Regions from separate parts of the Homo sapiens genome. Here region 1 is linked to region 2. The links are contacts of gene promoters, found by promoter capture Hi-C in blood cells and fetal thymus (Javierre and others, 2016). All regions are on one chromosome and are shown on one strand. The core of a region is centred on a gene start or on the middle of the fragment in contact, and the rest is flanking DNA. Distances in the headings are between cores, read along the strand shown.

What was found. The method cuts DNA at HindIII sites, captures the fragments that hold promoters and counts their contacts. A CHiCAGO score of 5 or more calls a contact.
Region 1: a contact is called between a fragment that was not itself captured here and the fragment with the promoter of AKT3 in region 2, in 1 of 17 cell types (monocytes). The highest score is 5.3, in monocytes.

The regions. Positions count from the first base shown.
Region 1 is chr1:243,330,627-243,334,705 of GRCh38, forward strand. It overlaps SDCCAG8 (SHH signaling and ciliogenesis regulator SDCCAG8), which reads left to right. Exons shown (of 18, transcript NM_006642.5): 10 at 1-66. Among named protein-coding and RNA genes, the nearest start is that of MIR4677, 14 kb to the right of the region's middle. The HindIII fragment of the contact is 2,079 bases long and covers 1,235-3,313 here.
Region 2 is chr1:243,848,327-243,852,639 of GRCh38, forward strand. AKT3 (AKT serine/threonine kinase 3) reads right to left here and starts at 1,917. Exons shown (of 14, transcript NM_005465.7): 1 at 1,714-1,917. RefSeq lists an enhancer at 826-1,326. The HindIII fragment of the contact is 10,171 bases long and covers 1-4,313 here.

The sequences.
Region 1 (4,079 bases), core at 1,024-3,523, 520 kb before region 2:
AGGGCCATTGAGAAAGACATGATGAAAAAGGAAATAACGAAAGAAAGGGAGTACATGGGATCAAAGGTACTTAAGGACTCTGCTGTTATCCACATTGCAGAAGAAAGGTTTTTTATGATGCCATTGATGATTCCATAGGCTGGAGTTCTTGAATGAACTTTAAATTTTAAAATCGTTATTATATAAGTAGTTAAATTTCGTATAATTTAGAATTCATAAAAATGTTTTATCTTTTCATATATTTCTCAATAGTTTATGCTGATCTTTTCAAATAAAATAATCAGTTAGATTCCATACAATGAAATTACAAAATTTACTTTAAATCCTGCCATTCTGTTGGATTCCCTCTCTCGTGTTTCCCAGAGTCGTGCTATGAAGATACCCAGATTTTATTTCAACCTTGGCTAAATCAAGGAGAGATGACTTCCCCTGCATTATCTCCTACCCCTAAATTAAATATGCAGAAGATGAAACACTTGTAAGGAACTGAGTAACCAAGAAAAAGTGATTATGCACTCTGTATGAAATCAGTTCTGACAAATTACATGATGAATAATGACGGTAACCAGATGAAGGGAGAGATTTAAGGCAAAAGGAACAGATAACATGAAACAAGCAGTGTTTGAAAAGGAGTTCACAAACTAGAATACAGAGTTGAGTGGGACCTAGCTTTAAAATTGCTAACTAGACTCGAATTGAGCAAGTTGTGGTCCATCAAGTAACCAAAACAACTGTGTTACATGTTTGTTTTTAAAAGTGGACTCACAGCTTGTACTCTAAATGCTATGTTGTTATCAGATTCAATGTGTGATAATTAACTTATTCAGTAAGTATATACTGAGTATGTGCTGTGTGCAAAGCAATGTGGAGGCCTAAAGATATGTAAAGAGAAAAATCACAACTTCTGCCCTATGAGTTTTAAGTCTTAATAAGAGTAAACTCAGGCATTTCCTGTAAATGTCCTTGTCTTCTTATCCATTTTTAAAAATTGTGTCTGTCAAAACCCTACTACCTACCTTCTCTGCCCTGGATTGGTGATCTCTGCTGGTAAAAATCACACAGCCTTGCAGATGACATGGCTGTAGACTCCAGGTCTTCGGTGTCCACGGTCCTTTCAGTGCTTTCTAGCAGTCCTCTTTTGCCTTCCTCTCTCTTATTCATTCCACACTCAACAGATATTAACCAGAGGGGCTGGGAATGTTGTAGTCACAGGAACGATGCAGTTTCCTCATGAAGCTTACAAACTCGTAGGAGAAGTAGATGTTACACAAATGTTTTCATAAGTGAGTTTTCGATCATCATTGTGATAAAGCCATAAGGTTCGGTTTAGGATATCGTGGGAATGTGTAACAGGAATCTGACCTTGTCTAGGCAGTCACGAAAGACTTTCCTGAGTAAGAGATGTTGAAAATGAGACCTGAAAGCATTGATGAATGGACAGGTGAAGAGGGGAAGAGGGTTTCAGGCCCAGGAATATAACACACCCAAGACTCTGGACCTGGAAAGCATCGCACTTTCTAGGAATTTGGAGAAGGCCCTGATGGGTGGAGCATAGAGAGAGAGGAGCAGAGTAGTGGGAATGAGTTTGGAGAATTATGTTGGGATGGAATCATGAATGGCTTTAAAATCCATATGAAGGATTTTCAATTTTGTCCAAAAAGGGATGGAAAGCCATTGAATGGCTTTGAATTTGTCAGTGTCACGATGCCATTTATATTTGAGAAAAATCATTTTGTCAGTGGATTGGAAGGAGAAGCAGAATAGATGCCTGGAGATCAGCTGGAGGTCATTATCGTAGTCCAGGTCTGGAGGTGACTCACAGTCCAGGTCTGGAGGTGATTATCATAATCCCCCTCTGGAGGTGATTATCATAATCCAGCTCTGGAGGTGATTTTCGCAGTCCAGGTCTGGAGGTGATTATCACGGTCCCGGTCTGGAGGTGATTATTGCTGTCCAGGTCTGCAGGTGATTATTGCGGTCTCAGTCTGGAGGTGATTATCACAGACCCGGTCTGGAGGTGATTATCGCGGTCCCGGTCTGGAGGTGATTATCGCAGTCCAGGTCTGGAGGTGATTTTCGCGGTCCAGGTCTGGAGGTGATTTTCGCGGTCCAGGTCTGGAGGTGATTATTGTGGTCCGGGTCTGGAGGTGATTATCGTGGTCCCGGTCTGGAGGTGGTTATCGTAGTCCAGGTCTGGAGGTGATTATCGTGGTCCCGGTCTGGAGGTGGTTATCGTAGTCCAGGTCTGGAGGTGATTATCGTAGTCCAGGTCTGGAGGTGATTATCGTAGTCCAGGTGGGAAGTGATGGTATCTTAAATGCATTTCTTTAAAGACTGTTTCAAATCACTTGTTCTTCTCAAATTCTCTATAATACCATTTTTCCTCTTATTCTCAGCAGAGAGCCTTACTTAACTAACAAAGAAAATGGAAGCCGTTGGGTGATGACCACCTCAACTATTTCTCTTGTCCATGCCTTAAAATAAATTTTCACCTGTATTCCAACCCAGTCTGAATGGGAAAGGTGTCTTCCTAATCCCTTCCCCTTCCCATGGACCTCGTCTCCTTTCACCCCCTCAAGGAACTCATTCCATTTGTTTGTTCCACTTTTCTGAATCAATCTTTCCTTCACTACAGTCTCTTTCTTATCCTCAGGAAAATATTTTCAGATGTCTCTTACTGTTGAAAGGAACAATCTTTCTTCTAATCTGTGGTTCTTAATTTTTGGCACGCAAGAAGTTCTAAAAATCTGATTGTCCAAACAGTACCCCACACCCATTACATCAAAATGTCTGAGAGAAGCATCCAGGTGTCAGTGTGTTTGAAACTCACCTAGGTGATTCCAATGTGCAGCCAAGGTTGGAAACCACGTCAGTAATTCCATCTCCCTCTTTGACTCTTTCTCTTAATAGTCGAGTTTCTTGAAAGATTTGTCCATACATGTTGTCTTTATTTTGTCACCTCTCACTTACTCTTCAGCCCACTGCATTTCAACTTCCATGCCACAGCCAGTGAAATTACCATTGCTATGTTCACTGAAGATCTGTTTACACTATATTTACTGATTTTTTTTCAGTCTTATTCTCCTTAAAAGATTCTCTATGATTTCTTTGAATTCATATTCTTGATTTGGGAGAATGATGATGTGTGCTTTTTACATTACTCTGAGTTTAAAGTGCCTTTGAGACAATAAAGGAGACACATCCAGAAAGCAGCTTGATAGGAGGTTCTGGAGTTTAGCAGGGAGCTAAAGATTTAGGTGTCTTTAGCAGTACTATAGCTTGAATTCCATGTATATATAGCCTTAGGACCTAAAGCTTCAAGACTAAAGCTATTTGATTTCTAGATCCTTAACTGTATACTGAGCTCCCAAACCAGCTTTACTTTCCACCTCCTATCCCAGTGGATCCACTATTTATCCAGTTATCCAGCACAGAAATCTTGTCACCCTTTTCTCCCCCGTCTTTCTCACCCCACACATCTCATCATCACCAGGCTCTAAGACTTAAGCCCCTGAGCATTTACATTGCCTTGTCTCTCTATCCTACTGCTACCATATCTCATCCTTGGATGGTTCCTATAGCCCCTGTGGTGTCCTTGCCTCCAGTCTCACCTCCTTCCTATCTGTTCTCCAAACTGCAGCTGGGATGATCTTTCTCAATATGTCAGTCTCTTGCTTTAAAACTCCTTTCACGTCTCCCTGCAACCTTGAATAAAATTTAGGATCCTTTATCATAGCATGAAGACTCTACAATATTGTTCCTCTCTTTGGCTCTCCGGTCTTATGTTCCTTCATTTTTCTTCTTTGCACCCTCACCACACTGACCTACTTGTGCTTCCCCAAGCATGTACATATGCCTCTCTTCCATACTGTTTTTTCCAGTGCAGGATATTGCATGTGCTTTGCCCTCTGCCTAGAGGAGTCTTCCTCTGCCCTCTTTAACTGATTCTTCAGAGTTGTTTGTTTGTTTGTTTGTTTGTATTTGAGACAGGGTCTCACTCTGTCACCCAGGCTGGAGCTCAGTGGGGTGTTCACAGCTCACTTAGCCTCGACCACTTGAGCTCAGGTAATCCTCCCACC
Region 2 (4,313 bases), core at 667-3,166:
ATATAATTGTGCATTAAGTCATAAACCTTGGAAAACTAGTAACTTAGTAATAAGTTGCTATTTTAATTATAAAATATTTTCATGTTTTAGACAACCACCCCCGGAATGTTTGTATTCGTTTATACATATTTTGCAAGTGATACTCAAGTTCTGAAGACTAATCTTCATTTCCTACACCATCTTTATTAGACTCTTCCACCTTCGTTTTCCTAAGTAAATACATAACCTAAACCAATGAGTTTCACTCATTTGTCAGCTTCAACCACTGACAAAACCCAGTGGTTGCCTAGTGATGTATAGTTCTACTAAAAGACATATATGACCATGCTTTACCAAATACGGAACACATGTCTAAACTGTTGAGACAACTGCCAATGTATTAACTACAAAAAGCCATTATTTTTTACTTTAGCCTCAACTAAAATCAAAGTGTGAACACTTTATTATGGCTAGAAATTACCCAATATAGATGCATAGGTTTCACTGTTGACTTTCTATTTGGAAACTTCATCAATTGCAAACTACCAGGCTTTCAACCAAAATGCCACATTGGTGAAATGAGTTGGTTTTATTTTCATAACAACATTATTTTGATGGAAGAAATGTGAGCATCCCAGCTTTGACTTGTGGGTAAGCATTTCCTCTGCTTTCAGAACATAAACAGTAAATACCGGTATTGGAAAAACCTGGCCCCAACGAGATTCTTTATCTCTAGGCTAACTGTAGATTCCCGGGAAATCCCAAACAAGGGATGGTGACCCCGCCTCGGCGTCAGGGTCAACACAGCAACCAGCTAGGCTTCAACTTTGGGCTCTGAAGGGCCCCACCGGCATCATGGCTGATGCGGACCGATGCGCCGGAGGAGGTGGACAAGGAAGAGGCTGGTCTGTTTACTTGCAGCCAGAGCTGCCGCCGCCGCCAGCAGCGACAGCATCACTGGATCAGCCAAACCCAGCATCTTCCGCACATTTCTATTCTTAGCACACAACTCCCAAGCGGATCAAAACCCCACTACTATTAAAAACACAGACAAGCACGTTACCCACCTCCCACACACACACCCCCCCCCCCACCCCACCAGTGCCGTCTTTTCCTGCGCGCCAGTGGCGGGGAAGGGTGGGGGAAGGAAGGAGACCCCGGGGACGCCTGTGCATCCTCGCCTTCACCCCACCCCACGCGCAGACAGCCTCAGCGCCAGGGCGCGCGGCAGACGGCTCCCTCCCCCCAACCCAAACACACTGACACCGGCGCTCCACGCGTTATATAACCTCGCCGCCGCCCCCGGTCCAGGCGGGCGCCCCCTCCCCACGCCGCGCGGCCCGGGCGGGGAGGGGCGAGGGGAAGGAGCGAGAGTTGCGCAGACAGCAGGCGCCGGGCCGGGGCAGCCCAGACACAGACGGTACCGCTAGGCCGGGAACACCCCTCCCCCGGCCCGCTGCGCACCGCCGCCCCCCAGCTTTCCCCGGAAAGCGGGGGGTGTCGGTGTCAACCGCGCTGGGCATCCCCCGGCCTCCACACCCACACCCGAAGCCTCCGGTGACCCAGCCCCCGCCCACGCCCCCGGCGCGGTGACAACCCAGAAGCCCCCGCCTCACCCCACCCCGCCGCCATCCCCCGCCTGAGGGAGGCAGGGAGGGCGGACCGGGGCCCGGGGCCCGGAGGGAGTGGAGGCCAGGCGGGGAGGGGGCTAGAGTTGGGGGCGGTGGCTGTTACCTGCAACGGCGGCGGCGGCGGTGGCGGCCCCGCAGCTGCTCGGGCGGCGGCGGAGGATGGAGCCGGGGGGGGGCGGGGGGAGGAGAGGGGGCGACTCGGGGGTCCCCCCTCCCTCCTCCTCCCCTCCTGTCCTCCCCCCACCCCACAGAGCCTCTGGCCTCCTGGAGCCCGGTGCGGCCGGCGGGAGGGCAAGCGAAGGGCTGCAGGGGAGGGAGGGAGGGAGCCGGCCGGGCCGGGCCGCGGAGCTGGAGCGGGAGGCGGCGGCGGCGGCGGCGGCGGCGGGAGGGGGAGGGAGGAGAGAGGGCGGCGGCGGGGAGAGGAGGAGGCGGAGACTCTACATGGGAATCGGATATCGGCTACAAATTCATCACCAGAAAACACCGCTCGGGCGGGGGCCGGGTCACGCCGGCGGGGCGGCGGCTCTGGGCCCCGGGGCGCGCCCGGCGCGGGGAGGGGTTCTGCGGCCTCCTCCCGGGCTGCGCCTCGCTGAGGGGACCCCCCGCCGCCTCCCCGCCCCCTCCTTCCTCCCGCTCGGGGCCGCCGCCGATCGGTTCTCGCCGTCGCCGCGGGGCTTGTTGTTGACTTTGAGGAAAACTCCTGACGTCAGGGGCTGGCTCTCGGCGACTGGCGGGAGCGGCTTCCCCGCGTCCCCGGCCCTGCCCGCCGCCTCTGCTCCCCTCCCTGCCCGGCCCTCGTCCTCAGGCTTCCCCGCGCCCCCAAACCAGCGGTGCCCCGCGCCCCCTCTCCTCTCGCGAGAACATCCCCCTAGCCAGCCAGAGCCGGGAGCGGGGGCAGTCGCTCCCGGGCGGGAAGTTCTGGGTTTCCCCCTCGCCCGCGTGGCCCTTGGCGGGCACCCGAGGCCCGGGAGCGGAGGCTCCTCGCCCAGCCGCTTCCTCGGCGCATCCGCCCACCCGCCCTGGCCGCGGACGCGCGCGCCGCCAGGCCCCGGGCGTCTCCTCCAGTCCGCCGCGGCCCCTTGGGGAGATGGGCCCGGCGCGAGGGCTCGCACCTGGAAGCCCACGAAGTGGGCGGTGCCCAATGAGGTAGGGACCGGAGAGCGCGGAGCAGTCCAGAAGCCGACCCCACCCCCTGCACCTCGGGGAAGAGGGAACCCGGGTCAGCCCGTAGCAAGAATCATTCCTGACTATCCCAGGAGACCACGGCAGACCAAAAACACCTCTCTGAACAGCCTTCCGCACCGCTCGCTGCAAGCATTCGTCCACACACGGTACACAGATTGCGGGCGGATCGTAATTCACTCTTGAAATCACACCCTTTTTAGGGATATTCGTTTTCAATGACTTTGGGAAAGCCACGAGGTACTACATTTACTACGAAGAGACCGTTTCTTTATTTTGAAGTCAGTGACTCCTGAGACTGCATTGGGGACAACTTTTTTGCACAATGACCATATTTTACCATGCAGCGCACTTCAGAAAATTATAAAAGTTTACAAGTTTTATCGCTTCTGGAAACACCTGGGCAGCATCCCTATTATCCCGCCACGTGGCTCTAGCCTTGTTGATGTACCTGTTACTTTCTCCCACTGCAACATTTTTGTTAATGTCTGTGGCTTCTTTCTGCAGAAGAGTTCCTCCTCCTGACATGCACTTCATTCTCTGCTTTTCTATGTCTTGACAACTCTCTTATGGTAGTCATTTTCTTATACTGTAGCCCCCTGGTATTTATGTACTGTGTGGTATTAATATTTATACTTCCAGGTTCACATCTTTTATGAACTGTGCATCTGTTGGGATTGTGGACAGGAGTAGGAAACCAAATAAAAGGGTTTTTTAAAAAAGTCAGTTTTCTCCGTTTGTAAGGGAAACTTGTCTCCCTGACCACCCTGGAGCAAAATTTGCCATTTTAAGATAACACAGTCCGTCTGAGAGAAAGTCCTGCACCATGCCTTTCCCCTTTTCCCATATTTCCCAGCATGCTATGAGCTGATGAATAAACAGACTTTGTCCTATTTTCGTTGTATCTATAAAATATACATAATGTATTCCCATAATTATCAGACCTCTCACAGTCACTATTGGTAAAATTATTGGGTTACAGGTTTCTTGCTGTAAAACACAAAAATAGGTCATATTTTTATTCCATAGTACCCCAACTTGCTTTTTATTTTTAAGAAAATAGTCCCTTATGACACCAGCACTAAAAAGAGTGTCTGAAACTTTAAATACTTAACTTTTGAGAGTCAGAGTATCCGGAATTACTGAATTACTAGATATCTCTTATCAGTGAGATGTTCATTTGTTCCCAAATTTAACATCAATATATTTACAAGAACTGAATGTGTCTTATGAGCCATACTACCTCAAAATATTTCTCCCAGTCTGGTCAGATTGCATTAAATCTTAGGTGGATTAAACCCTAAAATTCAGTATGTGAGAATGGATTATATACTCTCGGCTTCATGTATTTGAAGAATTATAAGTTTTTATTTCTGTTCAATTTTTGCTTGTGGACTATAGTAGTTTCATAAGTTTCCATAATAAAAGCATGTTTGATTTTGTTATTGAATTACTATTGATTAGGGATATTATTTATTTAAATAACGTTGTTCTTTCTCTTAGACTATGCCGGTATGAATT